Regions from separate parts of the Homo sapiens genome. Here all the other regions are linked to region 1. Evidence: promoter capture Hi-C in 16 types of primary human blood cells and fetal thymus (Javierre and others, 2016). All regions are on one chromosome and are shown on one strand. Each heading gives the region's core, a stretch centred on a gene start or on the middle of the fragment in contact. The rest is flanking DNA. Distances are from core to core; before and after follow the strand shown.

What was found. The method cuts DNA at HindIII sites, captures the fragments that hold promoters and counts their contacts. A CHiCAGO score of 5 or more calls a contact.
Region 2: a fragment that was not itself captured here is called in contact with the fragment with the promoter of MBD2 in region 1 in 1 of 17 cell types (neutrophils); the score reaches 9.8 in neutrophils.
Region 3: a contact is called between a fragment that was not itself captured here and the fragment with the promoter of MBD2 in region 1, in 1 of 17 cell types (neutrophils). The highest score is 9.1, in neutrophils.
Region 4: a fragment that was not itself captured here is called in contact with the fragment with the promoter of MBD2 in region 1 in 1 of 17 cell types (monocytes); the score reaches 5.9 in monocytes.
Region 5: a fragment that was not itself captured here is called in contact with the fragment with the promoter of MBD2 in region 1 in 1 of 17 cell types (M1 macrophages); the score reaches 5.2 in M1 macrophages.

The regions. Positions count from the first base shown.
Region 1 is chr18:54,223,334-54,226,108 of GRCh38, forward strand. It overlaps MBD2 (methyl-CpG binding domain protein 2), which reads right to left and starts at 1,336. Exons shown (of 7, transcript NM_003927.5): 1 at 685-1,336. The coding sequence starts at 1,226. RefSeq lists a silencer at 1,037-1,426 and enhancers at 2,177-2,719, 2,720-2,775. The HindIII fragment of the contact is 9,949 bases long and covers 1-1,702 here.
Region 2 is chr18:55,596,343-55,599,117 of GRCh38, forward strand. It overlaps LOC105372126 (a long non-coding RNA gene), which reads left to right. Exons shown (of 3, transcript XR_935479.3): 2 at 738-821. It also overlaps a transcript of TCF4 not described here. Among named protein-coding and RNA genes, the nearest start is that of TCF4, 9.5 kb to the left of the region's middle. The HindIII fragment of the contact is 2,893 bases long and covers 1-2,775 here.
Region 3 is chr18:55,574,759-55,577,533 of GRCh38, forward strand. The region is part of intron 3 of TCF4 (transcription factor 4); the gene reads right to left. Among named protein-coding and RNA genes, the nearest start is that of TCF4, 12 kb to the right of the region's middle. The HindIII fragment of the contact is 1,366 bases long and covers 674-2,039 here.
Region 4 is chr18:55,336,720-55,339,494 of GRCh38, forward strand. All of the region lies in intron 8 of TCF4 (transcription factor 4), which reads right to left. Among named protein-coding and RNA genes, the nearest start is that of TCF4-AS1, 110 kb to the right of the region's middle. The HindIII fragment of the contact is 1,711 bases long and covers 521-2,231 here.
Region 5 is chr18:55,263,033-55,265,807 of GRCh38, forward strand. All of the region lies in intron 11 of TCF4 (transcription factor 4), which reads right to left. Among named protein-coding and RNA genes, the nearest start is that of LINC01929, 140 kb to the left of the region's middle. RefSeq lists an enhancer at 1,108-1,387. The HindIII fragment of the contact is 4,499 bases long and covers 1-2,775 here.

The sequences.
Region 1 (2,775 bases), core at 86-2,585:
TATTATCGAATATGTAGCAGCATCTCTGGCCTCTACCCACTAGATGCCAGTATCACACCCTCCCCAGGTGTGAGAACCGAAAATGTCTCCAGACATTGACAAATGTTCCCTGGGGAGCAAATTTTGGTCTAGGAGTCTAAAAACTTAGTACAGTGTGTCAGTTTCAAAAGAGTATATTCTGCAATACCAAGAAGTTCCAAAAAAACTTCAGGCATTCCAAATAGCTGCTTTATACAAAACTTTCTTGGATGAAGTAAATGAAACCTTGTTACTGTAGATAGCTCATTCTTCCACATGTGCATGCTTAACACTTGTGATGATGAATCTGGGACAGGCTGGGACAGGAGCCAACAGTGACTGGGTTTTATAGTTTCGATGAATTACACCTCCTTTTAACCCTTCAGTGGACTAACCATCCCTGCCAGGCTAACCCTTTCTTCGCAAACCATCTTCCCCGACGCCTTCCACATAAGATGCCCTCCTGCGGGCCCTCACCTTTTGACACTGCCTCCCACCGCACTGGGGTCAACTCTCACCCAAGGGTTCCGCCACCTTCCACCACCAAACCAGCCTGTCCCTGCCACATGCCCCCCGGGCCCCAGCGCTCATCCTCTGCCCAGGCCCGCTCTTGACCCCTGACCCCGGCCTGACCCCGCCACCCCCTCCCCGCCCCCAGGGAGGTACCTGAAGTAGTAGACATCGCTCTTGCCAGCACTTAGCCCAGATTTTCGGATCACTTCCTCCTTCTTCCATCCGGGGGGGAGGGCCGGGCAATCCATCCTCTTCCCGCTCTCCGTGGCCCGGGGTCCCCTGGGCCCCGGCCCCGCGCTCCCCGACGGGAAAGGGACCGGCTCCCGCCGGGGGGCGCCGCCGCCACCGCTGCCGCCGCCGCCGCAGCCGCCGCCGTCGCCGCCAAGGCCGCTGCCGCCACTCGGGGGACGGCCGCGGCCCCGGCCCCGGCCCCGTCCCCGTCCCCGGCCACGGCCCCGGCCCCGGCCACGGCCACAGACGCCGCCGCCCCGGCCCGCCTGCTTCCACCGCCCCCGGCCACGGCCGCCGCCCCGAGCGCCTTCCCTGCGCACGCCGCTCACCGGGGACGGGGCGAGCGCGCTGCCCTGGCCCCCCTGCTCTATGGCGGAGTCGCCGCCAGCGCCGCTGCCGCCCGCCGCACTCTCCCCCTCCTCCTGCTCCGGGCAGCAGCGGCCTCCCCCCGGGTGCGCGCGCATCCAGCCCCCTCCCCAGCCGGCGCTGCGCTTCTTCCGTAACCGAGCCCTTGGAATCCCGGAGACCCGCCCCGCCCGCAGCGCGGCGCGCGGGGGACGCGCGCAAGCATCATAGAGCGGGCGCGCACAGAGCGGCCCTCCTGCCCGGGGCGTGGCCCCGGCCACCGCCTCTTAGGTCCTCCAAGCGCTATGGGCGGCCATCTTGTCTCCGCCTTCTCGGGGCCACGCCCCCTCCCGCGCTTTTCCGGCCCCCACTGGGCGCGCGGAGCTGGGAAGGTTGGTCGGGCTAGCCACCAGCTGGGGGTGTCATAGTGACTGTGGTTAGTTTGTTTCAAACGGGGTAACCTCCACCATTATGTGATTTTACCTATGTTTGCTTCCCAATTAATGAATAACAAGCAAAATAGATCTTATATTACATACCAACTCGGCTATTCATTTAAGGGGGTGATAGCCCCTTTTCCCGCCCCTCTGCACAAAGCTTGCAGGGGAGCTTATAATGAAGGAATGAAGCAAAGTGTCCCATTCGCTGAATACCAGTTCCCTCCTGAGCCTGGCTTCAGAGCCATTGACAGATTCTCCTGGAACCTTGTAAGGATGTAGGAAAGGAAATGATAACTTGGAATATGCCCATGAGTCAGATGGGGCTTACCTCTAGATTCTCCTTAGAATGACCAGAATCCCTAAATCCATCTAGAAATTTCCAGATGTCTTTGTCTAATACAAAAATCAGTGGCCTTTTATTTGGTAAATATTCCATTATGTTGAAAGTCCAGCCTAACTTACTGTCACAAGCCTTTAGGAAACTGTGTGGTATTCTTTTCGGTCTGCCAACTTGAATTTTAGAAATGCATATTTTCTATAAGTTGTCGAACACTTATAGAAGTGTGCTATTGATATTCAAGATAATATATTATGAAATATTTGGAAGATTGAAAAATGTAAAGCACATGTTATCAGCCTGATGATAAGCTATCTTGGGTTTCTATACTCATATGCCCTAAAAACTGAGGACCAAGTTTAACGTATAGAAAAAGTTGATTAATATAAAGCAACAAAAATCTAAAATTAATTTGGTTTATCTTTGCAGTATATGCAAACATTAACTCATACACACAAACTTGTCTGTCTCTAAACCTGACCTTAGTCTTCTTTTAATGTCCTTTAGTTGAAAGACACTAATTTGTGGTTTCCTACAAGAAATTTAGAAATGTGAATGTAAAAAATCATCAAGAAATGAGTTCTGAGGAGATCAGTACTGGAGACATTCATTTAGAAGTCATCTGTGGGCCGGGCGCGGTGGCTCACGCCTGTAATCCCAACACTTTGGGAGGCAGAGGCGGGCAGATCACCTGAGGTCAGGAGTTCAAGACCAGCCTGGCTAACACGATGAAACTCCGTCTCTACTAAAAATGCAGAAAATTGGCTGGGCGTGGTGGCGGGCGCCCGTAGTCCCAGCTGCTCCGGAGGCTGAGGCAGGAGAATGGCGTGAACCCGGGAGGCGGAGCTTGCAGTGAACTGGATCACGCCACTGCACTCCAGCCTGGCAGAC
Region 2 (2,775 bases), core at 165-2,664, 1.4 Mb after region 1:
TGCCATATGCAGCTGTGTAACCTTGGATCTGTACCTCTAAGCCTCTCTTTTCTCATCTATTAAAAGGGTATAATGCTCTGTCATAAAATTATTATATCAAATTAAATATAAAATACTGGCAAAAGCACTTAGCTCATTCAACAGTTGTAACCTAGTAATTAGGATACATATGCTTTAATGCCACATTTTTCATATGTCGACTAAAGTGTTAAAACTCAGGAAGTTTGGATCCATTAGCTTTTTTTCACAATGTGTGGAACCTTTAGAATCGTGCATGTGACAACAGTGATCAGATGTGCCTGAGAAGAACACGTTTCTTTAATGGTCATGAAATTGATTTAGATCAACTTTTTGTTTTTGTTTGTTTGAAGTGAAATGGCATAACGGAAAATACTAACTTGCATCATAACAAGAGTATTGCTGATTTACAAAAGTCTTGTTTCAGCTGTATAATATACAGTATAGTACATGCATACTAGGTTATCATAAAAAAAAAAGTTTATAGCCACTGCTCAAGTAGATGGGTGATATGGTTTGTCTCTGTGTCCCCACCCAAATCTCATGTCAAATTGTAATCCTCAGTGTTGGAGGAGGGGCCTGATGGGAGGTGATTGAATCATGGGGGCGGACTCCCCTTGCTGTTCTCATAATAGTGAGTGACTTCTCATGAGATCTGGCTGTTTAAACGTATGTAACCCTTCCCCTTCGCTCTCTCTCTCCTGCTGTGCCATGTGAAGATGTGCCTGCTTCCCCTTTGTCTGCTGTGACTATAGGTTTCCTGAGGCCTCCCCAGCCATGCATCCTGTACAGCCTGTGGAACTGTGAGTCAATTAAACTTCTTTTCTTCATAAATTACCCAGTCTTAGGTAGTTTCTTATAGCAATGTGAGAACAGTCTAATGCAATGGCCCTCATTGCTTTGCTAGCAAGGGTATTCATGAAGTCTATTATGGGATTATAATGGAGAGGAGAAAAGAAAGCTAATCATCTTTGCATTCTATTTCTTCTCAAACTGCATGATATTTCAAACCCGAGAGCTGCTTTCCCCCTTCCCTCTCCCCCAAAGAAAAGGAGATGGTTAAAAAGGCTGAGGTGGGCGGATCACCTGAGGTCAGAAGTTCAAGACCAGCCTGGCCAACATGGTGAAAGCCTGTCTTTACTAAAAAAATACACAAATTAGCTGGGTGTGGTGGTGTGTGCCTGTATCCCCAGCTACTCAGGAGGCCAAGGCACGAGAATCACTTGAACCTGGGAAGCGGAGGTTGCAGTGAGCCAAGATTGCAGCACTGCACTCCAGCCTGGGTGACAAAGCAAGACTCTGTCTCAAAAAAAAAAAGGTAAAAGTTTAAAAAGAGTAAATAATATAGAAGGAATGAAAGAAATTTTGGAAAACAGATAATCTTTTGCCTATTCCAAAGTGCAGTAAAATAATTGCACTTAATATATCTAATCTGGATTTTAAAATCCTCCAAAAGCTGCCCTCCAACCCCCTCCCCACCTAACTTTTCCAACTTTATTTCCATATCCTCTCCTAAAGGAAGTCTTTGCTCTAGTCAGTTAAGCATAGGACACATGACATTGAGGACACAAGACATTGAGCAGTTTGTCTATGAAAAGCACTATGCAAGGGGCAATGAAGAATTCATTCAAGATGAAAAACTGGGGCCCTTAACTTCCCAGCCTTTACATGCTAATGGGTAGGCTAGACAAGAATAAATCACCCAAACCCCTGACAAACTATATAGAGAGTTATCAAGTGGTAAAATCATGCCGTAAAACTATAATGCAAGGAGTCATTGCTATCAGCTGGAGAGATCTTAGAAGGCTTCTTAGAAGAGATGAGACTAGAGTTGAATCTGGAAAGAAAAGTGGTATTCCCATGAAGCAGATAGAGAGAAAAGAATGTCCTGGGCTGAAGCATTAACTCTGGCAAAGATGAGAAGGCTAGAGAGTAAGGATCTTGTTAGGGTTTGTGAGAAGAACCAAAAGACTAAACTGTTAAAACCCAGCAAATTTGGATCCATTGGCCTTTTTTCTATTTTGTATTTTTTATTTTTTTATTATACTTTAAGTTCTGGGATACATGCACAGAACGCGCAGGTTTGTTACATAGGTATACATGTGCCATTGGCCTTTTTTCACAATGCATGGAACCATTAGGATGATCACATGGTGGCAGTGATAAGATGTGCCTGAGAAGAACATTCTGGAGGCAACATGGAGGATGAATTAAGGTAAAAAGAAACTGAAGGCAGAGACCAGTTAGAAAGCTACTGCAGTTCACTTAACTACTGCTTATGAGATTCTGAAATAGGGCTGTGGCTATGGCCATGAAAACGAGCATTCAAGAAATGCTGTGTATAGATTAGCAGAAAAGCCATCAGGGTTGCGAAGCAATAGAAAAATCAATTCAAACTGGCTTAAATGATAAAGGGCTTGCAAATCCAAAAAGGTTTAGAGCCATCAAATACAGCTCCAGCTTCATTTCTCTACTTTTCTCTCAACTCAGCCCAATTTTATGTCAGGCTAACTCCCTCATGATACCAAGATGGCTACCAGTAAAAATGGAAGCAATCACTCTTTTGTTTGCCTCTAGACGGAGATAGCTGTTGGTGCCCCCTGAACCTTGAAACTAAAGCCTCAGCTGAGGTGAGACTGGACCATTTTAGGAATATACTTGCCTTTGACTCAAATTATGTCATGACTGGTTTACATTCATCCCTAAGTAATTATGTTGCTGAGACTCAAATCTATCAAAGCCTACCCTTGGAGCTGA
Region 3 (2,775 bases), core at 107-2,606, 1.4 Mb after region 1:
TAGCACTATAACTTGTATCTTGGCTCTCAAAAAAAAAAAAACTTTCACTGAATGAATGAATGAATGAATGAGTGGACGAATGAATGTGCACATAAGTAAATTAAAGGTAATAATTCCTAATAACTCTATCGTTACTCCAGTGAAACACACTCACACTGAAAAAATAATAAGAACATGGCATGCATTCATCCACTTCCACTTTTCTGAAGCTTTCAACCTTCTTTAAACAATCAAGCCTTAAACAATTATGGACTATCTCTCATCTTATCCCAATTCTACCAAAATTACTAAGGATTAAAGTGTAGAATTCCCTTACAAGTGGGACACTACAAATATACACCCCATATAAAAGAGAAATTGTTCAAAATGAGCCAGAAAAAGAATAATAAGATGTTAATAAAATCAGGGGAAAATTAGATGTCAGAAGAAAATTAATCTTGCAGTTAGAAGTAACTAGATTGAAGAATCACAGTGGCCATAAGAGAACAGAAAAGCATTCAATGGTTTGGGGCACTAGTGGACAATAATGTCCAAGAGGGCACATAACAAAGAACAATTATTCAAACAAGCATTAAAACTGACATCGTTTAATATTTCTTTTCAAACTTACAAATTGGGTTATGTATGAAATTGGATATTCAACCTGGAAATATTATTACCACCTGCTGACCAAAGCTTTGAGTTTCAGGTTGTAGGGTTGCAAAATATTTCCAATATAAATCCTTTACTTTTTGAAAAGTGAAGAAAAAGGTTGAGGAATTCATAGGTTCTTAACTGAAATCTTTTACATGAGTCTAGAATATCCTCTTTGTCATAAATTTTTTTTTTTACTCTATACCAAGCACAGTCATTCATTAATAAATTCTTCCTAAGCCAATATCAACCATCATTTGAATTTTTGGCTTCACTATGGAAATTGGACACACATGCTAAGTTAAGATACTTGCAGGTCACAGAGAGAAAGACACTTTAATCTGAACAATATTTGGGGGAAGGGATGGTATACACATACACACACACGTGTATTTTTCTATTTGTGATGTACTTCTGGTCAGTTTCATTAAAAGGTATATCTGGCCACTTCACAATGTTTTTACAAATATTACATTAGTTTTTGCTAAGATCACGGTATCTCCGGAAAAGTTTTAAACGCATTTCTCAATATATAATATGGCAAAGATAACTATCACATTTCCATTCCAGCTTTTGACCAAACAATGTGACACTGGTCATGGTGATGCCAGTGATGATAATAAAAATTATAATGATGAATTTTTGCAATCTTAAAATGTTTTAAATACAGCAGTATTCCTTTTTAAAAAATGTGAAAACCCCTCTTGAATTGTACTGGTGAGTTTCGATTTTGTTTAGTTTTGAGGTGCAGCCTTTAAGATTCTACCACTTCCTCAATATGAAACAGCTACTTACCAGCAAACATTGCAAAAGAACCTAGATTTCCAGAATTTGGCTACATGAACAATTTTCTCCAAAGCAGCTTCATTTGGCTCAAGAAAGTTTCCACTGCTGAGTGATATTATAGGAAGAATTTTGGGAAGTAGGGACACAAAATCTTCAATTTCCATCCCGACACTACCATTAAAAACATATACTTTTGGATGGAACTGGATTATAATCGGTAACACCCCCGAGTGAAACGCAAACTCAGTCAAGAAAATAAACGGCAACCAAGACAGGGGTTTTTGCCTGGAAATCATCCCATGTGTCTAGACCAGAGTTGACTCCACTTTAGAGCCAAGAAACTTCTCTTTCTGGGAGCTCTCTTTAATCTACCCTTTCCAGTTTCTTTCATCTGTGCTTGGTTCACAGTGATCCTGATATGCACGCTCAGTCTCACTACCTACTTGTCAAAATTCTACCATTCCTTCAAGGATTAGAATTGAGTTTTCCATGAACCCTTCATTATTAATTTCCCCATGAAAGAAATAAGTTTTCATTTCTCTAAACTCCCACATTATTGTGTCTTCCCAATGCTAGATGTTAATCACATTTTTACTTTTCTATTTTCTCCTGTTAGAAGAAGCTTGTCCAACCTACAGCCTAACACAAACTCGTGAACTTTCTTAAAACATGAGGTTTTTTTGCAAAAGTTTTTCAGCTCATCAACTATCGTTAGTGTATTTTATGTGTGGCCCAAGATGATTCTTCTTCTTCCAGTGTAGCCCAGGGAAGCCAAAATATTGGACACCCCTGTGTTAGAATATATGCCCTCTGAGAGAAGGTTCTCTCTTCCATAAAGCCCTCTATGTCCTCTAATTGCTAACATGGAGATATGAGAATAGCAGGTACTAAATATATATATATATTATATATACATTTATATATTTATATATGTATATATACATTTATATATTTATATATACATTTATATATTTATATATGTATATATACATTTATATATTTATAAATGTATATATACATTTATATATTTATATAAATGTATATATACGTTTATATATTTATATATGTATATACATATTTATACATATATGTGTATATATACATATATATATATGATGATCCATCAATCAGAATTAGACTAGATAGATGAAAAGCTGACTAGCTAGATGCAAACAACATCCCATCTCCATTCCCAACATATTAAAACCCAAGGGGACAAACTGAAGCTATGCTACCAGTCTCCAGATATAAATATAAATAAAGATACTTTTCTAACCATAATCATTATCAATTTTTACTCATCTTAAGTGAATATAAAAGCAATTACTGACAAGGTATGCCAATTTGCATGTTTTT
Region 4 (2,775 bases), core at 126-2,625, 1.1 Mb after region 1:
ATCTTACATGTTTATTAGTAACTGTATATAACTAGAAAATTCTGCTATTAAGAATCTTGCATTATTGGTGTAAATACTTCCAAGGGTACATCAAATTGTAATCTTTCATACGACATCCATCAAACCAGGCTGGAGATTTTGACAAACATTAAACACAGTAAGGAGGCAATTATGTATGCATGATTTAATCTGCAACTAATTAATATGCAAATTTATTCATATGTTAGTTACTAAATTAAAAATGCAAAGAAGCCCTTATGGTGATTCTCGAAATTTTGCACAAACAGAACATTTAAAATGTAAGAAAAATGAAGTTTTTTAGAAAACTATAACACACTTTTAGTGTCCCCAGAACCTGTTGCATTAAGAAGACTCAAAAATATGTGTTTAAATACTAGATAATAATTTAAAAGGTGTGCTAATTTTACGTGAGAATGTGGGAACAGAAAGGTTAATCAGAATTCTCTCGAACTCTTAAGAGATACACTCTAATTACCAGACAAATGGTATTCTATTTCTAAGCTTCCTTCCCTGCTTTTGGGTTGTCAGAAGTTGGTCATCTTACTGATATCTTATATAAATGGTTAGGAGTTTTGAGGGGAATAAATAGTATTTGAAAGCAACCAGATATAATGAAAATTTAGGGTAACTCTGAGACCATTTGGTGTTCACTAAACATACAATTCGCTCAAGATGGCAACTCGCTCTTTTTGCCTTTGGGGAACAGCTCTTTGCAAACAGAGAAATGGGAGGAAAATCTTGAGAGAGGCTAGAAATTCTACCAAACTCTCTTCCAAATGAATCTTCAAAGAAAATAATGTGGCTAACCAAAAAGCAACAACCTCCCAAAAAAGCAGAAGGTAATTTTATCTGAATTCAATCTGGCTATTTTAGTCCTACATTTTCCAGACAGTCCAAAATTGATTTGAATCCTGTATGTGAGATGAGGGGTGCGGAGTGGTGATAATTTAAAAATATCTTTGGGTGTCTGTATACAAGGGAGTATCCCTTCAAGTGCACTATATATTATTCTTTGGTATTATTGCCTTATGCCAGAACCTGATTCCCCTAAGACTGCCTAGTGATCAGCAGTGAGATTTTGTATGGATCACCTCTCATCTGTTTACCTTTTTCATCCGACGTCCGATGGCCATGTACATACACACAAAGCTCCTGGAGCTGGCTCTTGGAACAGCTGTACTGGCCTCAAGAAATCAACACAAGTCAACTGTATGAGGAAGCACAATAACAGCATCTACGGCTCTTCCTAGGGCACTGAACTCTCACCCATGTTAAAAAAAAAAATCACCATCAGTCTCGCTGCTGCCAAGTGACACACAAAAAGGAAGTTAACCATTGGCTGTGACTTGCATTCACAGTCTGACTCTGATTTCCCTGCTTCCCTTAGCCCATTCTGATGCCAAGCGGACTACAGCTTGCCCATTTCATTTCGACCACGGCAGCCAAAAAAAGCACTGCCCCACCGTGCGACGACAAGCAGTCTGTTTTGATATTAGTACCTCAGTATGTGATAGAAGAGAGTCAGATGTCCTCAAACTATGTGCCCTCCCCCGAGGGACTCTCTCCTGGCCCTCCTTGGCCAGAGAGATGGCAAGCGTGCCACAAATCCTTAGCTTTGAAAGCACAGGGGACGGAGAGGCACTATCCGCAGGCTCAGACAGAAATGGCCATGAGTGCCTCTTCTTCCGGGGAGAGGATTCAGGCCCTCCAATTCCACACTCTAGTCTAACTGGAAATATTAACTCAGATTCTATTCACTCCCTGCCAGCATACAAAACACAAACTGAATTACATAAGAAAAAGAGTCATTTTCTTATATAATTAAATTGTAGTAAATGCTAGTAAGTAAACATCAGGTTTCCTTCTTTTTCTTTCATGAAAGACAGAGGAATATATGGGGTTCCCGAAAATTGATTTTTTCATTGATTCTTAGGGAGGAAGATGAGAGTGAAGTATTCTCCCCCCCACAACAAATTCTGATTTATTTGCTAAATGTACGGAATCTGACTGTAACCTGGTTTAACCTCTGAATGTGCCTTGTAATGTTCTAGTTCTCTCCAGCACTAATAGATCATGCTTTTTATAATTCCAACGAGGCATCGTCAGGTGAGGACTGCAATTGCTGGGCATTTCAAAAGTCTGAGAGTACCCTGGGCATCTTTAATTTTTACAGGTGACTCAATTTTTGTTGTGACCAGAACTGAACATAAAGCTTTTAAAAGCTTAAATGTACACATTTATGCATTCATTACACAGTGTTAAATCTAATTTGTTCTTTTTACTGTCACAGGAAGCACATGTTTAAAGCAATCTGTTTCCTCATGTGAATGCTTTCCTGTCTGTTTAAAAAAAATTGCGACACACTTTACCCTGAGTAACCAAGAGGTGATCATAAATATCCCTAAATAGCATTAAACAGATATGAAAGACATTAACACTTTCAGAATGCCAAAGTAGTATTAAAAAAAAATTCTAACAGATGCTCCTAGGTCAAAAAGTGAAATGTGTGTTTCCTGAAAAAACACTCTCATCAGAATCATAAATGAACTGTGAGTGGAGAAGTGAGGTGTTGCTGAACAAACCAGGATCCTTTTGGTGAGGAACACGGCAATCCACTGCCAACGTGTACTTGCCATAAAAAGCCAAATCGAAATGGAAGTTTGATGAAAACCAATATCCTTTGTAATCCACAAGGTGGCAATGACTACAAATGAGGGGTGGCTAAATCGGATCTATCGGCTTTCCAGAGAAAAA
Region 5 (2,775 bases), core at 161-2,660, 1.0 Mb after region 1:
TGACTTCATGAACCACCCACCTTGGCCTCCCAAAGTGCTGGGATTACAGGACTGAGTCACGGTGCCCAGCCGATAATGTTTTGATATATACTTTATTTGGTTTACAAAACCCACACCCATATTTATTTGTTAATTGCTAAAATACTGAAAGAAATCTGGCACATGATAAGAAGAACACAATTATCTCGTGACAAAATAAACTTCCATATCACAAAGTTATGATATTAAAATACATGAGTCATTAGTACTCATGATAGGTATTGTATAAGCAAGTTCTTTGAAATGAGGGTCTGACATCATACAATTGGACCACTGGGAGCAGCTCAGATATCAAGAGTATTAAAAATATTTAATATAAGATAAAATACAACAAATTATATCTAGTGTGAAAATGAGAAGAATTTCTGCATTAAGGAGTCCTTTAAAAACTAAAAACATGGATTGCAGGCATGCACCACTATGCCTGGCTAAGGCAGGAGAATCGCTTGAACCTGGGAGGCGGAGGTTGCAGTGAGCCGAGATTGAGATTGCGCCATTGCACTCTAGCCTGGGCAACAGGATCAAAACTCTGCCTCAAACAACAAGAACAACAAACAAACCTAAAAACCATTCTAAAGAGAAAATAATAATGATGTGAAATATAGATGATACTAACCTTTTTTCAGTATGTATTACCATGGTATTTGGGGGTACTTATCTTTTTTTTTTTCCTAGAAGCGATATTTCTTTTCATTATTATATACCTAAAAATTAGATCTATCAGTCAAAATAATCTGTGATATCTGCTTGATTTGAATATAGATTTTCACAAAAAGTTCAGAGCTACATTGGAAAAATCACATTATCTAACAAAGAACCTAAGCCAAAAAAGAACAAGATATTGCTTCACTACAGATAATATCTGCTACAGTAGTGGCTTTCAAAAGATTAATTCTTCCTTTAAACAACTTTAAAATGAAGATTACAAATAATATATATATTTTTATGAAACTAAACAAAGTATTGAAAACCAATACAAATATTTTAGGAGCATTTAAAAACTAAATATATACGCCCCAAAAATCACACGTTAGAAGAGGCAAGATATTATGACCAATCTGATTTCTTTAGAACTACACCTTTCTAACTAAACATTCTATCAGTGCCTGTTTTATGCAGGGAGATATTATGACTCAGGAAATAGAATTAAAAATAGAATCAACTTCTTACCTCATCGCGTCATGAAAATATTTCAGAAAACTACAAAGGCTACCCATGGAAACCACTGATAAGAACAGACTATTTTTTAACATGAAGCGATTTTACCTTGCAACAGCTGGAGTGCCAAACCCAAGGGCTTAAATTTCAAAGCAGTTTACTGGGGCCAGTTTGCCCTTTCACTTGGAATGCCTTTTGTTCTGGTCCAGGAAACACTGGAGAAGCTACATTTTCTAGATTGCCTGAACATGTTAAGCTACATGAGTCTTTCTCTTACAGATTTCTCTTTTTATTTGTGTGACAGATATAACAAAGGGTATAACTGGAAAAGAAATATATTTTAATTCTCAAGTGGCAGAATTTTTTTTTTTTTTTTGCATTGAGAAGTGGGCCATGTTTAGCAAGATACATTAAAGCTGAAAATGTGGGTTTGATGTAACAGGACTTGATTACTCTTTGAGGCCCAAGATTTTTGTCAATTCATATTAGAGATGATCAAAATGTCCATGTAACAGAAAGATGAAAACTAATGCATTTGCTTGGTAAAGACTTTATCGATTTCTAATTTTGGCTCTAATCAATTTATCTTGCCCAAGAGAAATATAATCAGTCCCTAAGTAGAGCTGTAACATACAAATATGAATGGAAGATGAGCAGTTATTAAGAGGAACTGTAATTTTTGTAGGAGGCTTCGACACTGCCTGCCACCCAAGTATTGTTCAGATGGCTTGAACACAGGTGGTGTTGCTGGCTAGAAGATGAAGCAGAAAGAAAGGTTTTGTATCTTGGGTTACATGCTAGACCACCCTCTGTCTCAGCCTCAGCTTTGGGGAAATGTTCATTCCCATTAGAACACACCCTCAACAAAACACTGGGATGAGTGGTGCCTTGGGATCAACTACTAAAAATCAGAATTTGGAAAATGTGTTGCCCCTTTAATGCACACCCATCATCTAAGGCTGGGAACATCATGAAGGCATCAAAAGAATAAGCAGCACAATTCACACTGTGTTTGCCTGAGAGAAGATGACTGCTTTCAAAGTAGGTTTTTCTAAACTGTGTCCGAGTGACCCTCGTGTTATTAAACCATTAGAAACAGCATAACAATGCCATGTGCTTATCTATAAAGATGACAAAAAGAAGGAACATTTCCAGCACTCCTACTACAACCATTTTAAAATACAAACGCAAGTATATAGACTACAATGCACTATTTTTTAACAGGAGGGATTCCTAGGAATTCAGGGGGAAGTTGGGCTTCCTGATCGTGCACAGGAAATGGAGGAGATTTAAATCAAACTAGTTTATTGTTCTCTGCTGGTGGTCTTGGTAACTAAGATGCCTTCACATTGCTGGATACAATTCTTATTACTCTTATGCTCTGTGCTTGTTCATCGCCTGACTACTTCAAGGCTCAATATTCTTGTAAAATATAAAGTGAACATTATGTGACTACTCTAATAATAAAATTACTGTGAAACCAAGTCCTCAAAGAGAAAAGGACATAATGTTTCTACTAGACAAGCCACATACTAACATGTCATTCGAAGTTAAAGTTCTAAGCCAGATTAATTCATG